3 separate regions of the Homo sapiens genome follow, and all the other regions are linked to region 3. Evidence: promoter capture Hi-C in 16 types of primary human blood cells and fetal thymus (Javierre and others, 2016). All regions are on one chromosome and are shown on one strand. The core of a region is centred on a gene start or on the middle of the fragment in contact, and the rest is flanking DNA. Distances in the headings are between cores, read along the strand shown. Region 1 holds the start of COA4 (cytochrome c oxidase assembly factor 4 homolog). Region 2 holds the start of RAB6A (RAB6A, member RAS oncogene family). Region 3 holds the start of LIPT2 (lipoyl(octanoyl) transferase 2).

Region 1 (3,569 bases), core at 243-2,742, 620 kb after region 3:
GAAAGGGTCTATGCATTTAAGACAGAAAGATCTAGGTTGACAGCAACCCTCTATCATTTGACGAGATGCATGATCTTGGGCAAATTAAGCCTTCTGATTCTGGTGCTGTATTTTCTCATAGGTAGCTAGTGGCACTTCATGTTATTGTTCTTTATTACTTATCACATTCTGTGTACTAGCAACTAGTCTGTATTTTAGCCCACCTAAATTAAGTAAGGTATAAATTTAGTAAGGTGTAAATTTCTTAAATGCAGAAGGCTATGTTTCATTCATCTTCACCATTGTTTCAATTTGAAAAACCCTTATTAGTAGTAGCAGTTGCCAAATATAGCACTGCTATATTCATCCTGAAGCCTAGAGAAATAACTGGAATAGTATAAGATCAATAAATGTTAGATGAATGAATAGTTTGCTGTGTATTCCTAATTAAGACGTCAGCTTTTCTTCTTTTTTGAGATGAGTATCGCTCTGTCACCCAGGCTGGAGTGCAGTGGTGCAATCTCGGCTCACTGCAACCTCCACCTCCTGGGTTCAACCGATTCTCCTGCCTCAGCCTCCCGAGTAGCTGGGATTATAGGCGCCCACCACCAAGCCCGACTAATTTCTGTATTTTTAGTAGAGACGGAGTTTCACCATGTTGGTCAGGCTGGTCTCGAACTTCTGACCTCAACTGATCCACCAATCTCAGTTTTCCAAAGTGCTGGGATTACAGGCATGAGCCACTGCGCCTGGCCTGGATGTCAGCTTCTTGAAGAGCAGGAACCATCACTTATATTTAGAGTATACATCTGAGCTCCACCAAGCATCCAGTATGGGGCCTGGACACAGTATTAGTTTCCTTAATAGTATCGTCCAGTATGCCTAATATAGCATTAGGGGCCTAGGAGAATACAAAGGTTCCATCACATACACAAAGTGGTGGTGAGTACAGAGACTTCTGGAAGTAACTGACGACTAATCAATATTTGCTAAATGACTGCTTGGCCAAAAGCCTTCCTGCCTCCCAGTATCCCTGTCTTTCTCCAACTCACTGATACTAGTTCTGACGCGGGGATCACACAGCTCATGTGCTCCCTTGGCCTAGGGATAGCTTTTCAGAGAATGACCATACGGGTTTGATACTTCTTTTTCCGGACCCTGTTCCCTCCATATCCCTCGACAATTGACGAAGTAACCCCTATTGATATCCTGGACCAGGCATGGCTCTCCTTGACGCAAAGCAACATCCACTACCCGCCTCCTCTGACTCTGTTCTGGGCCTGGATTCACCTGAGGGCTTGCGCCCAGTCGCTCTGAATCCTCAAAGGCGCCGCCATCTCGACCCCGCCTCCACCAGCCCACCTCTTCCGCCCCTTCCCGGAAGTGAGTCCCCGAGAAGCGTGCGGCGAGGACAGAGGTGGGCTCAACACCAAGAGGCCACCAATGAAAACGTGACTTTTTCACATTCCCCGCCCCTTCCGTGTGCACGCTCCCCACGAGGGGCTGGTTCCTGAAAGGATGTACAGAGGATCCCCAACCGCCTGCGAAACCCAAGCCGCCGCGTAGGAGCGTGCGTTCGGGCCCTCTTCTCCCACCTGTTCGGTGAGCATCGCGTACCGCGTTCTTCAGGAGGCGTTGCGGGCACAACGGGGCTGCGATCAGCGGCCGCGCGCGCGCATGCGTCCTCAAAGTTCAAAGTCCTCGATACGCCTGAGGCGCCTCAGGCCTCGTGGCTGCCAGCATTTTTCTGCTTTAAGATCCTTTCCATGACTTCCTTGTTTAGGCCAGCCTCCACGATCCAGCTGCCAACCATCTAGCCTACCCTGATCTCTGAGCAGGGGTCGTCGTCATTTTACTCCAGAGGAGACTGAAGCCAAAAGGTGGTGAGAGGAGAGTACAGCAGCATTTACTGAGTCCTATAGTAGCCCAAGCGCTTTTCATTCGTTATATTAATCTTCATTCTAATTGTGCGAATTAAATATTATTAATGGGAAAACTAAAATGAAAAAGATTACATAGTAAGGCGTAGTGCTGGGATTTGAACACGGATCTCTTGGTTTAGGATCAAGGCACTTTCTATTCCACTGTTCTTTCTCTAAATTATTTGCTCCTGGCCCTATTTAAAGAGTTAACAGTGTATTTAGGAAGAGAAAACTATCATTTATTGAACTCTTTAGACATACCAGCCTCCTTACAAACCTTACCTTTTTTTTTTTCTTTTTTTTTTTTTTTGAGACAGGGTCTCCCGCTGTAACCCAGGCTGGAATGCAGTGGCGTGATCACGGCTCACAGTGTTGCCCAGGCTGGGCGCAAACCATCCTCCCGCCTCAGCCTCCCAGTGTTGGGATTACAGGCGTGAGCCATGGCACCCGGCTTCATCTCTGTGCTTCCAGAGAGGTTATTAAATGATGTGTCCAAGGGCACCAAATGAGGCAGTGACAAAGCTAGGTCCAAGTCTGTTTCAAAGCCCATTTTCTCCCTCTTGCTTAAGTTATACCGCCTCCAAGGCAAATGAGTTGTGTAAAGTGCCTAACTCCCTCTTGTGATTCCCCATTGCCCTCAGAATAAAAAGTCTTAAACTCCCTACTATGTCCTACAAAGCCTTGTGATGATCACTTACTTATATCGCCAGTTTAATATTGTCTTATTCTCACACTGTATTCTCCCATCACTGAACTTTTTTTTTTTTTTGCTCTCATGTGTCAGATTCTATCTCAACCACCTGCTCTTCCATTGACCAAAAATAGTTTTCCCATCTCTGGCTAACTTCTGTTCCATCTGTCAAGTTTCAGCTTGGAAATCACTTCCTCTAGGAAGCCTTCCCTGCCTATTCCTGCCCTTGTCTGGATTAGGCATCCCTCCACTGTGGTCCCAGTCTTTGCTATCTGTACACTGTGTAGTAAACTGCCCTGTTTCCTTGTCTAGGTTGTAAACTCCATGAAGCCAGGAACTTAACTGACTTAGACAGTCTTGAATCCTCAGCACTAGCATAGTGCCTGGTACATGATAGGTACTTAATCATTTGTTGAGTGAATGAGAGACACAGTTAAGGCAATAAGGAGTCCTAGTTGCTTTACAGCCCATCATGGTGAAATTTTTGCAAAGGCTGAAGTCATTTCTCTTCAAACCTTAAGTTCCTTCTGTATGCTGCTTTCTGCTGAGTGTTCTGATGCAGACGGGCAAGACAGTTTGGGCAAATAAATACACCTCACATTTTTGTATAGTTTACAAAGCCATCTCACCTTATAGACCCAGAGGCCAGGTTTCTGCATACTGTATGCTACAGCCACAGTGAACTCTTTCCATCCTTCCCATGTGTCAAAACCTACCCATATTTGGGCACTCTTTCACTTTGTTTGTTTGTTTGTTTTGGAGATGGAGTCTCACTCTGTCACCCAGGCTGGAGTGCAGTGGCACGATCTTTGGCTCACTACAACCTCCGCCCCTTGGGTTAAAGCGATTCTCCTGCCTGAGCCTCCCGAGTAGCTGGGATTACAGGTGCCTGCCATCACGCCCGCCTAATTTTTGTATTTTTAGTAGAGACGGGGTTTCATCATCCCGGCCAGGCTGGTCTTGAACTTCTGACCTTA
Region 2 (3,633 bases), core at 710-3,209, 730 kb after region 3:
AGTAAATTTTGATAGAGATGGTTTGAGGATATAGCTGTTGTCTTGATAGGCCAGAATAGATGATATTTTAAGAACTTTGGTTCTTCCCTGTAATTTATTCTAGGTCAGCAATTCATCCCTGGGCCTGAGAAGGCACTTTTTCAATCCTGTCATTTCTACAGCTAAGCAAATAACTCCCCAATAATGAGAAAAAGTACATAAATGTTTTGTGAATGATATACACAAATGATATACATTTGTGTATAGACACAAATGTAAGGACATATTTTTTATTATTCACTTAGAAAGTTTTTTTGTTTTTTTTTTTTTTTTTTAAGACAGGGACTTGTTCTGTCACCCAGATTTCAGTGTAGTGGTGCCATACCTCAGCCTCCAACTCCTGGACTCAAGCAATCCTTCTGCTTCAGGCTCCTGAGTAGCCGGAACTACAGGAGCACACCACGATATTCGGCTATTTTATTTTTTGTAGAGATAGTGTCTTGCTTTGTTGCCCAGCCTGGTCTCGAACTCCTGGGCTCAAGCGATTCTACCGCCTCGGCCTCCCAAAGTGCTGGGATTACAGACGTGAGCCACCGCGCCCAGCTGCTTTATGGATTTTTTTTTTTGGAGACAGAGTCTCGCTCTTGTTGCCCAGACTGGAGTGCAATGGTGTGACCTTGGCTCACTGCAACCTCCGCCTCCCGTGTTCAAGCGATTCTCCTGCCTCAGCCTCCCAAGTAGCTGGGATTACAGGCACCCGCCACCACACCACGTTAATTTTTTGTATTTTTAGTAGAGATGGGGTTTCATCATGTTGGCCAAGGCTGGTCTGGAACTCCTGACGTCAGGTGATCCACCCAACTCAGCCTTCCAAAGTGCTGGGATTACAGGGATGAGCCACCACGCCCGGCTTTTTTTTTTTTTTTTTTTTTTTTTTTCTGTTGAGATGGAGTCTCGCTCTGTCGCCAGGCTGGAGTGCAGTGGTGTGATCTCGGCTCACTGCAACCTCCGCCTCCCGGGTTCAAGCGATTCTCCTGCCTCAGCTTCCCGAGTAGCTGGGACTACAGGCGCGCGCCACCACCCCCAGCTAATTTTTGCATTTTTAGTAGAGACAGGGTTTCACCATGTTGGCCAGGATGGTCTCGATCTCTTGACCTCGTGATCCACTCGCCTCCGCCTCCCAAAGTGCTGGGATTACAGCCGTGGGCCACCGCGCCCAGCCCGCTTTATGGATTTTGCAAGTCATTTACTCCCTCTAAGCTTCAGTTTCCTCATCTGCAAAATTGGGAGGCCATGATTCTGGCAGTTATAACATTCCTGGGAGCAATGGAGGAGAATGTTATTTAGTAAGATGCCTGTGAGGAATTATGATGAGAGGATGGAGAAGGTGGGGTGTGTGCAATGGTGAAGAAGGGATCTGAGGACTGTGAGGCACGGCTGAGGGCTCAGGAAAGAGGCTCCCATTACAAATTTTAAGGCTATAGGACCCCACCCACACTTTTTGGGGGATCATATTCCACCTTTGTCCCGGCCCCGCCTCCGCCCCACCCTTCTCCCCCTCCCCTTTCTTTCCTTCCCCTCCCCTCAGGCTGAGAGGCGCCACACTTCTTATGGCCGCCACAGTGCTCCGCTTTCCACAGCTCGAGGGCTGCGCGCGCTCTCACGCTGCCACCTCACTCGCGTGTGGGCTCGCCCTCAGCCCCTTCCGATTGGCTCATTATGTAAGTGACGTAAGGGCTCCAGCCTCCCACTAACTTATCCCTGGCTTGCCCCGCCTCCTCCTGGCTTCTTTTGACGCCAGTGGAAACCTAACCTGCCCCGTCGCCGCCGTGCGGGAGGAGCCGGTAGAGCTGTCCAAACCAGGAAGGCGATGGCGATGGCGGTGGCGCGCACGCATGCACGCACGCACGCACGCCAGCGGCCGGCGGGGCCGCAGGCTCGCGCCCGGGCTCGCCCCGCGCCGCTCCAGAGGCTCGCGCACTCAGCAGGTTGGGCTGCGGCGGCGGCGGCAGCTGTGGAAGCTCAGGCGCTGCGCGTGAGAGGTCCCAGATACGTCTGCGGTTCCGGCTCCGCCACCCTCAGCTTCTCTTCCCCAGGTCTGGGAGCCGAGTGCGGAAGGAGGGAACGGCCCTAGCTTTGGGAAGCCAGAGGACACCCCTGGCTCCTGCCGACACCGCCCTCCTTCCCTTCCCAGCCGCGGGCCTCGCTCGGTGCTAGGCTACTCTGCCGGGAGGCGGCGGCGGCTGCCAGTCTGTGGAGAGTCCTGCTGCCCTCCAGCCGGGCTCCTCCACCGGGCCTTGCAGGGGCCGAGAGAGCTCGGTGCCCGCCCTTCCGCTCGCCTTTTTCGTCAGCTGGCTGGAGCAGCATCGGTCCGGGAGGTCTCTAGGCTGAGGCGGCGGCCGCTCCTCTAGTTCCACAATGTCCACGGGCGGAGACTTCGGGAATCCGCTGAGGAAATTCAAGCTGGTGTTCCTGGGGGAGCAAAGCGGTGAGTGCGTGGCTCCCCTACTCCTGGCAGCTGGCCGCAGCGTCCCCGCACCGCCCCCGGTGCGGCCCTTCCGTCCGCGGAGGCTCCCTGCCCGCCTCGCGTCCGCGCTCGTTGCCACCGCAGCCCTTCCCGATGTGCCCCCCGGTGCCACTGGCTCTTCGCCAGTGGCCGAGTTTTTACCCTGTTCCCCGGGTTCTTCAATCCTCGACTCCCCGGCTCCGTTCCCCGCAGTCCGGCCATCTCCGGTCGATCTGCCCTCCCTCCCCAGACCTCACCCCGCCCAGCCTCTTGTCCATCCCTTTCTTCCTCCGGTCTCGGTCATTGCCCGTACCCCGGCCCCCTTTCTTGAGCCCCACCCTTATTCCTTGCTCTTTTCCCAGTTCCTCAGCTCTGTGAGGCCCACTCAGGGAAGCCCCACTCCCGAGAGCGGGCCCTCTTCAACCTTGGCCAAGGAGGGTGGGATCTGGGCGTTGTTTTCCCCAGAGGCTTGGCCCTGCGAAGTGCTGATGTCGTGGAAGGTGGGAAGGGGTGGTAGTAGAAAAAATTAAATGATTTTCACCTGGGTGGGAAATTAGTCTGGGCCATAGAGGAAACATCTGAATTGGAGACGACTTGAGCATGGGGTGGTTGGGGGTGAAAGGGGTAGCGTCGGCAGTGGAGATTTTTGCCCCTTAGGTTAGATGGGGCTGTGGCTTGTCGGAAAACCTCATTTTGTTCTCTTGACTTTCATCACTGACAATTCTTTTGGCAATGTTGATGATTTTTCAATCTCTGCCAGATGCTATGTCATGATCATTTTACTTGGAATTTTTCTCATCTCACCTCCCCTTTTTCTCTTTTCAACATGAAGCAGCGTCTGAGTCTCATGGTGGTACAAAAGGGAATTACTGGGGAAATGTTAATTATTCATTCCTTCTTGAGTATTTTCCAATGATATATTGAGGATTCATGTGAGAGAAGGCTTGGAATAACAAACATCTTTGTTTTGTCGGATTTCCTTTGGAAAATGGAGTAGAGTAGGAACAGACTCATCATCTAGTTACCTAAATTAGATTTAAATACCATTTGGGCTAAATAATTCTTTTATGCTTAATATTCTGTACTGTCTGATGAGTGAAATTGTTATGTCATTTACCTGGTCAGGTTCTGCTGTCACTGTACTTTTG
Region 3 (3,291 bases), core at 367-2,866:
ACTTGGATGAGTCTCCAGATAATTATGCTGAGTGAAAAAAAAATTCTAAAAGGTTGCACTCTGTATGATTCCATCTATACAACACAGACGTTTGCCAGGAATTAAGAAGCAGTGTAACTACAAAGAGCAACATGAGGGATCCTTGTGGTGATGAAAATGTTCTGCATCTTGACTTTATCAATGTCAGTATCCTGGTTGTGATATTGTACTACAGTTTTGCAAGGTGTTTCCATTGGGGGAAGCTGGGTAAAGGGTACATATAATCTGTCCATATTATTCCTTACAACTGCATATGAGTGTCCAATTTTCTCAAATAAAACATTTAATTAAAATAGTACATATGTGATTTCTCTTGTCCAAACCCTGATTGATAATTTGAACCCTTCATCAGACTGGAAAATTTCTCTTCTATTCCTAGATTGCTAAGTATTTTGGTCAGAAGAGGTGTTTATTTTTGCCAATAGATTTATCTGTATTTTTTAACATAATCATAGCTTTTCTTTAAAAAAAATTTTTATTATTTCTTCCAATGAAGGCTTTTCTCTTTTAAGGTAAATTACATTGTTTGATTTCAGAATGCAAAACCAACCTTGCATTCCCGGGATAAACCCTACTTCATCATGATGTATTAATCCTTTTATAAATTGCTGGATTTGATTTGCTAATATTTGCTTAGGATCTTTATGTCTATGTTTATGAAATGTTTTTCAGACACCTATGGTGTCTGAAAAGTCCTCAGTAAAAATTCATTGAATTCAGACTTGTTTAAATGATACTCTAACTGCAACATAGCTGATGTTGTGGTCCAGACACCCCCTCAGGGCCTAGACAGTCATTCCCTCAGCTTCTGGAGTTGGTTACTGATGATACACAACTGAGTCCTTCTCTGGGGGCCGCCCTCCACCGAGGGAAGCAGTCTTGCCAAAAAAAAAAAAAAAAAAAAAATCACAGCTCCTCCCCAGGTGTAGCCTGTATCCATGACTGGTCAATGCAAGGATAAGAGTTTCTGGCCCCCTTGCTTTAATGTGGAACTACTCTGAAGGGTCATCCTAGGCTCCAAGCATGCCTTGGGATTGGTCAAGGCCTCTGCTGCAACTGTTTTGCAGGCCAACTTCTTCCTCTGCCTACAAATTCCTGCTTCCTTCACTTTCTTACAGGTGCTGATCTTTAAGTTCTCCCTACCTCCACCAATAACCTTGTAGGCAAGCTAATCTCCCTCTTGCGTCCCCCAGGGGCTCAACACAGGACACACCACGTTACCCTGTTTTATTTTTCTTTTCATAGCATTTAACACCTTATACGTGAAATAACCTTATTTACTTAACACTTAAAATACTTATCGTCTGCTGTAAGAATGTAAGCTTACCAGGACAGATCTTTCTCATACGCTATGCACCGCTGTATCAAGCGCCTATGGCAGGGCCTGCAGAACACAGCAGGCACTAAATACTGGTTGTTGAATGAACCGATGAGTCTGGCCCCGCGCTTTTGGTCCTGGGATCACATATCCCCCCTCCAGCTTTTAACACGCACCTGGGAGCTGCGGCTCGGGGTGTGCCCCCGAGTCCCCGCCCCTCAGGCCACGCCCCCAGGCCCACGGAGAGGGCGGGGCCCCGCGGACGCAACGGTGGGCACGATGCGGCAACCCGCCGTTCGGTTGGTGCGCCTGGGTCGGGTGCCGTACGCCGAGCTACTGGGGCTGCAGGACCGCTGGCTGCGGCGGCTGCAGGCCGAGCCAGGCATTGAGGCCCCGTCGGGGACTGAGGCGGGCGCGCTCCTGCTCTGCGAGCCCGCGGGGCCCGTGTATACGGCCGGGCTGCGCGGCGGCCTGACGCCCGAGGAAACTGCGCGGCTACGGGCCTTGGGCGCCGAGGTGCGCGTCACAGGCCGCGGTGGCCTGGCCACCTTCCACGGCCCGGGCCAGCTGCTTTGCCACCCGGTACTCGACCTGCGGCGTCTCGGCCTGCGCTTGCGCATGCACGTAGCGTCGCTGGAGGCGTGCGCCGTGCGCCTGTGCGAGCTCCAGGGCCTGCAGGACGCCCGCGCGCGGCCCCCGCCCTACACTGGCGTCTGGCTAGACGATCGCAAGATCTGCGCGATCGGTGAGCGCCGCGGAGCAGGGCGGTACCTGAGAGCCGAGGTCGGAGCTTGAGGCCTGGGGGCGGGGTCTGACGGGGCTGGACCAACGGAGGTGAGGGCCGGGAGGAGGCGTATCTAGCGCGGGTTTTGAATCACAGCTACCCGCTGCGTTTGAGTTTTTAAGCCCCTTTTCAGATATCGTATATTCAGAAGCAGAAGGCTCCTCACATCTAGTCCAACACGCATTTCTGTTAAGGGAGAGACAAGAGAAGTGAATTGCCAGGTTACGTCCTGCGAATGACAATGTCATGGCAAATAAGGGTGCTAATTTTCAAACTTTTTTTTTTTTTTTTTTTTGAGACAGAGTCTCGCTTTGTCACCCAGGCTGGAGTGCAGTGGCGCAATCTCGGCCCACTGCAAGCTCCGCCTCCCGGGTTCACGCCATTCTCCTGCCTCAGCCTCCAGAGTAGCTGGGGCTACAGGCGCCCACCACCAGCCCGGCTAATTTTTTGTATTTTTAGTAGAGATGGGGTTTCACCGTGTTAGCCAGGATGGTCACGATCTCCTGACCTCGTGATCCGCCCGCCTCGGCCTCCCAAAATGCTGGGATTACAGGCGTGAGCCACTGCGCCTGTCCCCAAGCTTTTTTTTTTTTAAGTATTGGAATCTGTTAAAAGACATTTCCTGGAATCCTCATGATGAGTGCAGCTGCTTGAAGCCACGCACCCCTTCCTTTCATTTGTTTCCTTTTCCCATCTGAGTACAATCCCTTGTTTCTCCAGAAACAAAATTTGAAAACCGGTGATCTAATCCAGTTTTCTCATCGCCCTGAGAGGGACACCAAAGCCCGGAGAGTGGAGGGTATCTACTCTAAGACCCTTTGGCTTGCCTTGCAGGAGTCCGCTGTGGAAGGCACATCACATCCCACGGCCTGGCTCTCAACTGCTCTACCGACCTCACGTGGTTTGAGCACATCGTGCCCTGTGGACTGGTTGGGACAGGCGTCACTTCCTTGAGTAAGGAGCTCCAGAGGCACGTCACCGTGGAAGAAGTAATGCCACCTTTCCTTGTGGCCTTTAAGGAGATCTACAAGTGCACACTGATCTCAGAGGACAGCCCCAACTGAAGAGTACTCATAACAGCCAGGATGCTCCTGCCTTGGGAAGCATGAAGTCTGACTTGAGTCACCTACTGAAACCCAGATTTTAGACC

The links. Contacts are between HindIII fragments. The CHiCAGO score rates a contact against its expected background, and 5 or more counts as called.
Region 1: a contact is called between the fragment with the promoter of COA4 here and the fragment with the promoter of LIPT2 in region 3, in 2 of 17 cell types (activated CD4 T cells and naive CD4 T cells). The highest score is 5.3, in activated CD4 T cells.
Region 2: a contact is called between the fragment with the promoter of RAB6A here and the fragment with the promoter of LIPT2 in region 3, in 5 of 17 cell types (fetal thymus, non-activated CD4 T cells, naive CD4 T cells and 2 more). The highest score is 7.6, in fetal thymus.

Annotation. Positions count from the first base shown.
Region 1 is chr11:73,874,769-73,878,337 of GRCh38, reverse strand. It overlaps COA4 (cytochrome c oxidase assembly factor 4 homolog), which reads left to right and starts at 1,492. Exons shown (of 2, transcript NM_016565.3): 1 at 1,492-1,581. It overlaps PAAF1 (proteasomal ATPase associated factor 1), which reads right to left and starts at 1,339. Exons shown (of 12, transcript NM_025155.3): 1 at 1,270-1,339. The coding sequence starts at 1,316. RefSeq lists enhancers at 1,102-1,171, 1,192-1,241. The HindIII fragment of the contact is 5,366 bases long and covers 1-3,569 here.
Region 2 is chr11:73,759,400-73,763,032 of GRCh38, reverse strand. RAB6A (RAB6A, member RAS oncogene family) reads left to right here and starts at 1,959. Exons shown (of 8, transcript NM_198896.2): 1 at 1,959-2,467. The coding sequence starts at 2,398. It overlaps LOC124902711 (a long non-coding RNA gene), which reads right to left and starts at 1,875. Exons shown (of 2, transcript XR_007062775.1): 1 at 1,793-1,875; 2 at 1-1,296. RefSeq lists silencers at 1,352-1,541, 1,702-2,011 and an enhancer at 2,308-2,808. The HindIII fragment of the contact is 8,881 bases long and covers 1,242-3,633 here.
Region 3 is chr11:74,492,049-74,495,339 of GRCh38, reverse strand. It overlaps LIPT2 (lipoyl(octanoyl) transferase 2), which reads left to right and starts at 1,616. Exons shown (of 2, transcript NM_001144869.3): 1 at 1,616-2,102; 2 at 2,976-3,291. The coding sequence starts at 1,637. The coding sequence ends at 3,205. LIPT2-AS1 (LIPT2 antisense RNA 1) reads right to left here and starts at 1,960. Exons shown (of 2, transcript NR_171028.1): 1 at 1,367-1,960. RefSeq lists silencers at 1,381-1,630, 1,741-1,850. The HindIII fragment of the contact is 1,360 bases long and covers 1,364-2,723 here.